Regions from separate parts of the Homo sapiens genome. Here all the other regions are linked to region 2. The links are contacts of gene promoters, found by promoter capture Hi-C in blood cells and fetal thymus (Javierre and others, 2016). All regions are on one chromosome and are shown on one strand. Each heading gives the region's core, a stretch centred on a gene start or on the middle of the fragment in contact. The rest is flanking DNA. Distances are from core to core; before and after follow the strand shown. Region 1 overlaps CLCN1 (chloride voltage-gated channel 1). Region 2 holds the start of TAS2R41 (taste 2 receptor member 41). Region 3 has its middle 14 kb from the start of TAS2R40.

Region 1 (3,307 bases), core at 803-3,302, 140 kb before region 2:
GGTGTGGTGGCACATGCCTGTAATCCCAGTTACTTGGGAGGCTGAGGCAGGAGAATTGCTTGAACCTAGGAGGCGGAGGTTGCAGTGAGCCAAGATTGTGCCATTGCACTCCAGCCTGGGCGACAAGGGCAACACTCCTCAAGAAAAAAAAAAAAATTATTGATTGCCCTTTTTTTTCTTTTGTGATGATTATCTTTTTTACTAATAGTATGTCTTGCCTAAATAACACAACACTTTCCTCTGTATATTAGAGTTCTCATTTATAAGTCTGTTCATACTGAACTTTCAAGCTTTTGAATACCTTGCTATTAACTTATTTATGATACCTTTTATAAATCTATGTTTTCCCAGGATATGAGTCACCAAGTTATATTTATATTGCAATAGCTACAGTGGGTTCATGAGTTCATTTGTTCAATAAATGTTATTAAGCATTTACTATGTGCCAAGTACATAATATTTCATCATTAACCTTTAGCTATATCTTATGCTTGCAACAGAAAAAAAATTTTTAAATATTTTAAAACGTTCTATTTTTTGCTGTTTATTTAATTTAATTTTTTAGTGATGTTAAGACTAGAGACAGCAGATACGTGAAACACCAGATTTCAACTCTGTAACATATTCCCAGGGTGTCTAGAAACTGTATTTGCAAATGATCTTCCCCATTCCACTTTAGGTGGTTTAGTTGAATCTACAGCATTCATATTTTGCACATTCACTTTATTAATTTAATCCCTTTAAAATGTCTTTCTTCAAAAGATTTTACATTTTTATCATGAAAGAAGTTTTCAGTGTCTTGTTAGGGATTTGATTTTTAGACTTTCATTATAGAGTTCATCTTCTCTAATTTATAAATCCCAACCTCCTATAATTAGTTGTTGAGTACACAAACCCATCTACAGTAACCAAGTACAAATTTTGGTGGATCTCAGAATTGGACGGTAGTCCAATGATGATAACTGTATTTTTCTGAGATTCCTCTAGACTGAGCTATACGGCAACATTGGCATCGTATGTACCTTTAAAATATCAAGATTTTGAAAAGTCCTGTAGAAACGAAATACTGTATATTTTTCAACATTTCTGCCAAACCTCATCCCAGCTCTCCAGATTCCCAAGTATATGTCTGGATTCCACTTCGCAAATTCAAGCTTATTTTGAGAAACCTACTTAGATGATATAGAGGACTCACCTGTATGCCACAATTATTAATTTCTCACTAGATTATATCCTTGATAATGTTACATCATACTGTATCAGGAAAAGAAACATATACTTCCTGGGCTATATTTCAAGCCTAACAGTTTGCAGCAGGCCTATAATATCCTATAATATTTACGAACATAAAACCATTCACTGCTACAAATCTATGATATTCCCTGGTTATCACCACTTCCCAGCATTTTCACTGTCTAATCATTGGACACAATAACCATACTCTTATTTTTTAGCTAGGTAGGATACATAGCTAAACTAAAATATAAACATGACTGAAACAATTTTTCCAGTGCCTAATTTGAAATGTAGTCTATGTGGTCTTCTAGCAGCATCTGTACAGGCAGGTAAGATTCTCAATTCAGCTGTTTTGTTTTTTTTTTTTTTTTGATTCGGAATCTCACTCTGTAGCCCAGGCTGGAGTGCAGTGGCACAATCTCGGCTCACTGCAAGCTCCGGCTCCCAGGTTCACGCCATTCTCCTGCCTCAGCCTTACCTGTAGCTGGGACTACAGGTGCCCGCCACCACGCCCAGCTAATTTTTTTGTATTTTTAGTAGAGACGGTGTTTCACCTTGTTAGCCAGGATGGTCTCGATCTCCTTGCCTCATGATCTGCCCGCCTCAGCCTCCCAAAGTGCTGGGATTACAGGCGTGAGCCACCGCACCTGGCCAATTCAGCTGTTTTATAATATTAATGAAGAGAACTTCCATCTTCCTTAATCTCATGACGTGGAAAGTGTCATTACATTATACATCAAGAGAAGAGCTTTTACAATGAGTATGAATACCATTCCAAATTCTCAGTTTGCTTTTAATAAGTCTAACATTGTTACCTAGTATCACTAAGTTCTCTGCACAGCCTGAGGCTCTGTTGAATTTTTTTTCACTCCTTTCACTTCATTCTCCCGAAGTGAATTCTTCATTTTACTCCTTCTAATGAAGGGTCTAAATATGGTGGAAACCCATAATGGGTTTCCAGTTTTCCAGTTCCCTGAAATTGAGTGTTTAAAATCGTGGTAGTTCTGTAGGTCTAGATCTGAAGAAAAAAAAAAAAAAGCTGGGTGTAATCCCAGCACTTTGGGAGGCCAAAGCAGGCGGATCACCTGAGGTCAAGAGTTTGAGACCAGCCTGGCCAACATGGCAAAACCCTGTCTCAACTAAAAATACAAAAATTACCTGGGCGTGGTGGCAGGCGCCTGTAATCCCAGCTCCTCGGGAGGCTGAGGCAGGAGAATTGCTTGAACGCGGGAGCCAGAGGTGGCAGTGAGCTGACACACCATTGCACTCCAGCCTGGGTGACAGAACAAGACTCTGTCAAAAAAAAAAAAAAAAAAAAAGAAGAAGAAGAAAAAAAAAGGAAGGAAGGAAGGGAAAGAAAGAAAGAAAGAGAAAGAAGAAAGTCTTGGGAGTTATTTGTGTTTCACATTACTTCTGGATCTTTTCTTTCACGTGCCAATAGCTAAAAAAGTTTGTTAATCTCATGTGTCAACCTTTGTGCTATAGGAGTTGATAACTTCAATGTCTTCTGATTGTAATACTGTTCTTACACATATCTTGGAGGATAATCTAAAATACATCTTCTGAAATCAGACCTATTGGTTACCTGTTATATGAATTGCTAGAGCTTTCAGATTAACCTGAGCCTACAAAATCTCTTATGGCTTTTATGTACTTATTTCAAAGAGATGGTACAGGATAGTTCAGTCCAACTGTTAAATGTCAGAATCACTTAAGAAGCTTAAATTACAAGTGCCTATAGCCCTATCTGCAGACAATCTGATGTGGTAGCTTCCAGTGGGGTCTGGTCATCTGCATTTTAAAGCAAGTTCCCCTGGATGAGCATTACTCTTTAGTGTTTTAGCAAATATTAGCTCTGAGAAGCTTTTCCTCCTTTGCATGAATACTATTTGTTCAGCCCATCTTCGTTCTTTCCTTCCTTCCTTTCTACCTACTCACCTAGCTACACCCTTCCTACATTTACTGAGCACTGTGCCAGTGCAGAGAGAAGGCAGAAAGGACAAGATGCACTCTCTGTCCTCAGGGGATTCTCAGTCTCTATTCTCTTCATTTTGCCCATTCATTTTTATAG
Region 2 (3,655 bases), core at 143-2,642:
ATGCTATGTGAAATGCTCCAGAGACAGAAATACATATATTGTACGATCTCACTTACATGTGGAATCTGAAAAAACAAACCCACAGAAGTAGAGAGTAGATTGGTGGTTGCCAGGGTTCTGGAAGGGGAAATGGGGAGATATTGGTCAAGGGGTATGAAGTTTCAGTTATGCTAAGTGAACATGCTTTGGAAACCTAAGGTATGGTAGTATGAGTATAGTAAACAATACTGCACTGTATACTTGAACTTTCATGAGAGGGTAGATCTTAAGTGTTCTCACTACACATGAAGAAATTGAAAACAGGAATTATGTGAGGTGATAGATATATTTTAAAAGAAAATATTTTTACTTTCAACATGGTCTCATAGGGACTTCTTTTTGATGTTGGTGTTAGACAGGACTCACATATGCCTCGGGTATCTCAGGGTGGCAGACAGACTGTAAAGTGGCCCTGCCTGTCCCTCAACCCTGGTGTTGGGCCTTTGTGTAACCTCCTTCTTTTGAGTGTTGTTGGTGACAGTGACTTGCTTCTAGCCAATAGACTATGGCAAAGGTGATAGGCTGTCACTCCAATGATTGTGTTATGTTATTTAAGACCCCATCTTGTTAGCAGACTCCCTTTAGAGACTGCTGACTTGACGTGAGTGGCCATGCTGAAACAGCTTACCTGGCAGAGACTGTGAGAGGCCTCTAGGACCAGAGAGCAGTCTCCCACCAACACCCAGGAAGAAACAGGGGCTCTCAGTCCTGCTTCGGAAGGCCCCTCAACCACATGATAATGAATTCTCTCACTGGAAATACAAAACCCGTTTACACCATTATCATTTACATCTCAGGATTCATGGAGGATCTAAGTAGAGATCTGGATGGAGAGGTAGACGAAGTGTTTGATTTTGAAGCGATTTGTGGGCAAAGGCAGTAAGGTAAGCATGGATGTGTAACAGGGAAGTACTGAGACAGAATTCTTTGATGTCACTATTTTTCCTGTGTATCTCCTATACTTGTCTCTATATTTAAAGTCTTAAGAATGTTCTGATGGGAAGAGGAGTGTTCATACGGCCTGAGGATGGAACTCAGTCACAGAGACCCAGAAAAATCATAGACATTGATACTAACCATGGCAGCATGCAGGAAAACTGGACAAGGCAAATTAGGGTAATTTGCAGGCCTAGTGGTAACTGACACTAGGATAAATTTGCATCCTGTCTGAGCCAAGAGCACACCTCTCCTCTTTAGCCTGAGCATCCTCCTCTCTAAGTGAGCTCTGGTTCAGATGCAGAGCCTGACCACTCTTTAGCACTCCTAGGAAAGATTAAAAACAGGACTGTGGCTAGGGGCAGGGAGGAGGCCAGGGACCAAGGCACTCAAGTGGGGACTGCAGGAGGGGTCAGAATGCAAGCAGCACTGACGGCCTTCTTCGTGTTGCTCTTTAGCCTGCTGAGTCTTCTGGGGATTGCAGCGAATGGCTTCATTGTGCTGGTGCTGGGCAGGGAGTGGCTGCGATATGGCAGGTTGCTGCCCTTGGATATGATCCTCATTAGCTTGGGTGCCTCCCGCTTCTGCCTGCAGTTGGTTGGGACGGTGCACAACTTCTACTACTCTGCCCAGAAGGTCGAGTACTCTGGGGGTCTCGGCCGACAGTTCTTCCATCTACACTGGCACTTCCTGAACTCAGCCACCTTCTGGTTTTGCAGCTGGCTCAGTGTCCTGTTCTGTGTGAAGATTGCTAACATCACACACTCCACCTTCCTGTGGCTGAAGTGGAGGTTCCCAGGGTGGGTGCCCTGGCTCCTGTTGGGCTCTGTCCTGATCTCCTTCATCATAACCCTGCTGTTTTTTTGGGTGAACTACCCTGTATATCAAGAATTTTTAATTAGAAAATTTTCTGGGAACATGACCTACAAGTGGAATACAAGGATAGAAACATACTATTTCCCATCCCTGAAACTGGTCATCTGGTCAATTCCTTTTTCTGTTTTTCTGGTCTCAATTATGCTGTTAATTAATTCTCTGAGGAGGCATACTCAGAGAATGCAGCACAACGGGCACAGCCTGCAGGACCCCAGCACCCAGGCTCACACCAGAGCTCTGAAGTCCCTCATCTCCTTCCTCATTCTTTATGCTCTGTCCTTTCTGTCCCTGATCATTGATGCCGCAAAATTTATCTCCATGCAGAACGACTTTTACTGGCCATGGCAAATTGCAGTCTACCTGTGCATATCTGTCCATCCCTTCATCCTCATCTTCAGCAACCTCAAGCTTCGAAGCGTGTTCTCGCAGCTCCTGTTGTTGGCAAGGGGCTTCTGGGTGGCCTAGATGGCATGGTTTCCTTATCTAGACCCCCGGAAAAGAAAGGTGAGGATGGCAGAGCTGTGGCCCACTGACATGGAGGTGTTTTCATAGGTAGATGAATACTGGGTACTGTTATGGGGCTCCTCCTCTGGGAAGCGGAGGAGACAAGGAAATCTGGGAACTCTCTGAGCATGCTTCCCTTCTTTGGAATGTTATAAAGATGCAGTCCCATGGATCCCAGAGAGCCAGTATTGCCCAGAAGTTCAGAATATGTTAATATGATGTCGTGCTACTCCTTACGTTTGTACCCCTTTGTTATCTGGAAGGCTTCGATTAAAAGTGTTGATTAACTGTGCCATCGCATCTCCACTGCCTTTCAGAAAGTTAAGAGCAAATATTTGCCTCTATGGCTGAACTGAGATGTGGATAGTGAAGCGACAGCCTTCTTGAGGACAAATGTCATGGTTACTACGAGAGCCCCAAGGGACAGGCAGTTGTGGCAGGCAGTGGCCTGGGCTGTGAGTTCTGATTGCCCTTTACTGCATGAAGATACTTTGTCTCCACACAAACTTGGATAATCTGGTTTTAATTTTATTAAGTTTACTGGAAGGTTTCTTTACACCACCCAGTTTCTTTTCTCATTAACATTTCTGACTTCAATTTTCTCTTCTCTGAAGTCTGAGTAGTAGCCAGACTTTTTTCTTGTTTATCATTCCTTTAGAAAAAGACACATTGTGACTTTCTTGTCTTCCTCAAGCATATGTCACAGAGTCACATCTGCATTGAATAAACATGTACTTTTCAATCTGAAAAACAGACTCAGGAATTTCACTGGACTGGGAGTGGTGACGTCCGTAATCCCAACACTTTGGGAAGCTGAGTCAGGCAGACTGCTCGAGCTCAGGAGTTCAAGAGCAGCCTGGGCAAGATAGCGAGACCTCCTCTCCACTAAAAATTCAAAAAAATCAGCCAGGTGTGGTGGTGTGCACCTGTGGTCCCAGCTACTCGTGAGTCTGAGGTGGGAGGATCACTTGAGCTCAGGAGATAGAGGCTGCGGTGAGCTGTGATCACTGTACTCCAGCCTGGGCAACAGAGTGAGACCGTCTTAAAAAAAATTCATTAGTTTGTATCTAAAAACTACTTAAATATTGTTTTAAAAAGAACCACCCTGTTCAAAATTTTACGTTTAAATACTGTTTTAAAAATAACTTGCTCCAATTACTATGCAAATGATTTTAGAAATACTTTTGGAAAACATTTTATTTAGAGATGAGTGCCTCTAAGATAGCTTAAACGTTTTTGCTAAAGGGCATCAATGTGCAAATTTCAGAGACAAGCTTGCAGCTGAATCCCTGATAGGGAG
Region 3 (3,273 bases), core at 711-3,210, 240 kb before region 2:
TCTGGTTCTTTGAGGAAAAGTTTTCAGCATTTCCTCATTCAGTAGGATGTTAGCTTTGGGTTTGTCATATATGGCCTTTATTGTGTTGAGGTATGTTCCTTCTATATATAATTCAGGTATGTTCCTTCAATTCCTAAGCTCTCAAGTCCCTATGTTGAGAGTTTTCATTATGAATGGAGGTTTAATTTTATCAAATGCTTTTTCTGCATCTGTTGAGATGATCATATTGCATTTGTCTCTCATTCTTTTGATGTGATGTATCACATTTATTAACTTGCCTCTGTTGACACATTCTTGCATCCCTGGGAAAGCCCACTTCATCATGGTATACTATCTTTTTGATGTGCTGTTGGATTCAGTTCCCTAATATTTTGTTGAGAACTTTTGCATCTATGTTCATCAAGGATATTGCCTGTTGTTTTCTCCTTTTTTGTTGTGCCTTTGTCCGGCTTTGGTATCGGGATAATGCTGGCCTATTAGAATGAGTTAGGAAAAATTCCCTCTTCTTCAATTTTTCAAAATAGATTGAGAAAAGTTGATGTCAGTTCTTCTTTAAAATTTTAGGAAAATTCACCAGTAAAGCCATTCTGCCCTGGGCTTTTCTTTGTTGGGGGACTTTTTATTACACAATATGTGACTGTATTAGTCCATTTTCATACTGCTATGAAGAAATACCCAAGACTCGATAATTTATAAAGAAAAAGAGGTTTGAGCCGGGCATGGTGGCTCACGCCTGTAATTCCAGCACTTTGGGAGGCTGAGGCAGGAGGATCACCTGAGGTCAGGAGTTCAAGACCAGCCTGGCCAACGTGGTGAAATCCCATCTCTTCTAAAAATACAAAAATTAGCCAGGGGTGGTGGCGGGTGCCTGTAATCCCAGCTACTCAAGAGGCTGAGGCAGGAGAATCGCTTGAACCCAGGAGGCAGAGGTTGCAGGGAGCTCAGGTCACACCCAGCCTGAGTGACAAAGCAAGACTCCATCTCAAAAAAAAAGAGGTTTGATTAAGTCTTCTTACATATTATCAAACAATACATGACTGCATTAGTCCATTTTCATATTGCTATGAAGAAATACCTGAGACTGGGTAATTTATAAAGAAAAAGAGGTTTGATTAAATCTCATTACTCATTATTAGTCTGTCCAGGTGTTCTATTTCTTCCTGGTTCAATCTTTGTAGGTTATATGTGTCCTGGAATTTATCTATTTTCTTATTTCCTCTAGGTTTCTCAGTCTGTTGATGTATTGTTGTTTATAATAATTTCTAATGATCTTTTTTCATTTCTGTGGTATCAGTTGTAATGTCTCCTTTTTTGTTTCTGATTTTATTTCTTCCCTCTTTTTTCTTAGTCCAGCTAGTGATTCGTTGACTTTATCTTTTCAAAAAGACAAGCTTCATTTTGTTAATCTTTTGTATTTTTGTCTCTATTTTATTTAGTTTTATTCTGACCTGTATTATTTCTTTCCTTCTACTAATTTTAAGTTTGGGTCATTCTTGCTTCTCTACTTCCATGAGATACATTTTGAGGTTGTTTATTCAAACTCTTTCTACTTTTTTGATGTTGGCATTTACTGCTATAAAGTTCTCTCTTAGTAATATTTTTGCTGTATCCCATAGGTTTTGGTATGTTTTGTTTCTATTCTCATTGTTTCAAAAAAAATTTACTTCCTTCTTATTGCTTCATAGATCCACGTTTGTTTGAGTGGACATTGCTTACTTTCCATGTATTTATACAGTTTCTGAAGTTCCTCTTGTTGTTTTAGAGTTTTGTTTCATTGTAGCCTTAGAAGATACTCAATACTATTTTGATTTGTTAAAATTTCTTGAGATTTGTTTTGTGGCATAACATACAGTATATCCCAGAGAATGTTTCATGTGCTGATGAAAATTATTTTCTGCTGCTGTTGGATGAAACATTCTGTCAATGTCTATTAGGTCTATTTGGTCTACAGAACAGTTTAAGTCCAATGTTTCTTGTTGATTTTGTCTAGAGAATCTGTCCAAAGCTGAAAGTGGTCTGCTGAAGTTCTTACCTATTATTGTATTGATACCTATCTCTCTTTCTTTAGCTCTAACAACATTTGCTTTATATATCTGGGTGCTCCAGTGTGCAGTGCATATATATTTACAATTGTATGTCCTCTTGCTGAATTGGTTCCTTTATCATTTTATAATGACTTTCTTTGTCTCTTTTATGTTTTTGACTTTGGTGATTTTCTGTACTGATAATGTCTGATTCCTTTCTTTCTCTCATTCATGTATCTGATCTACCAGTGAGTTTTATACTTTTGTGTATTTTCAAGATGGTAGTTATTGTCCTTTCACTCCCAGATGTAGGACTCCTTTAAGGCAAGTCTAGTGGTGATAAATTCTCTTGGTTTTTGCTTGTCAGAGAAAGACTTTACTTCTCCTTCATTAGTGAAGGATAGCTTTGCTGGGCATAGTATTTCTGGGTAGCCATTTGGTTTTTTGTTTTGTTTTGTTTTCTTTCAGCACTTTGAATATGTCATCCCATTCTCTCCTGGCCTGTAAAGCTTCTGCTGAAAAAATCTGCTGTTAGTCTGATGGCGATTCCCTTATATGTGACTTGACACTTTTCTCTTGCTGTTTTTAGAATTCTCTCTTTGTCTCTGCCTTTTGACAGTTTAACCAAAATGTGCCTTGGAGAGGACCTTTTTGGGTTGAATCTATTTGGGAATGTTTGACCTTCCTTTATCTGGATGTCTGTATCTCTCACATGACTTAGGAAGTTTTCAACTATTCTTTTATTAAATACATTTTCTGTGCCTTTTCCCATGTCTTCTGAAACTCTCAAAATGCAAATATTTGTTCACTTAATGGTGTCCCATATGTCACGTAGGTTTTCTTCATTCCTTTTATTCTTTTTTTGTACTTTATATCTTTTTGTCTGACCGGGCTATTTCAAAATATTTGTCTTCAAGTTCAGAAATTCTTCTGCTTGATCTAGTCTATTGCTGAAGCTCTCAACAGTACTTTTATTTTATTCATTGAATTCTTCAGTTTTGAAATTTCTATTTGGCTTTTTTATTATAGCTATTCCTTTTCAAATTTCTCATTCAGGTCATTAATTGTTTCCTTATTTCTTTGTATTCCCTATTTGTGTTCTCTTGTATCTTGCTGAGTTTCCTAAAGATCATTATTTTGAATTCGTTTTTGGACATTTCATAGATTTCCTTTTCTGTGGGGTCTGTTATTGGAGAATTATTGTGTTCCTTTGGAGGCATCATGTTTCTTTGCTTTTTCATGTTTCTTG

Evidence for each region. Contacts are between HindIII fragments. The CHiCAGO score rates a contact against its expected background, and 5 or more counts as called.
Region 1: a contact is called between a fragment that was not itself captured here and the fragment with the promoter of TAS2R41 in region 2, in 1 of 17 cell types (M1 macrophages). The highest score is 5.0, in M1 macrophages.
Region 3: a contact is called between a fragment that was not itself captured here and the fragment with the promoter of TAS2R41 in region 2, in 2 of 17 cell types (M0 macrophages and M1 macrophages). The highest score is 6.0, in M0 macrophages.

Annotation. Positions count from the first base shown.
Region 1 is chr7:143,334,071-143,337,377 of GRCh38, forward strand. All of the region lies in intron 12 of CLCN1 (chloride voltage-gated channel 1), which reads left to right. Among named protein-coding and RNA genes, the nearest start is that of CLCN1, 20 kb to the left of the region's middle. The HindIII fragment of the contact is 1,801 bases long and covers 1,153-2,953 here.
Region 2 is chr7:143,476,481-143,480,135 of GRCh38, forward strand. It overlaps TAS2R41 (taste 2 receptor member 41), which reads left to right and starts at 1,393. Exons shown (of 1, transcript NM_176883.2): 1 at 1,393-2,316. The coding sequence starts at 1,393. The coding sequence ends at 2,316. All of the region lies in intron 2 of EPHA1-AS1 (EPHA1 antisense RNA 1), which reads left to right. The HindIII fragment of the contact is 17,498 bases long and covers 1-2,257 here.
Region 3 is chr7:143,234,070-143,237,342 of GRCh38, forward strand. No RefSeq gene overlaps it. Among named protein-coding and RNA genes, the nearest start is that of TAS2R40, 14 kb to the left of the region's middle. The HindIII fragment of the contact is 1,142 bases long and covers 1,390-2,531 here.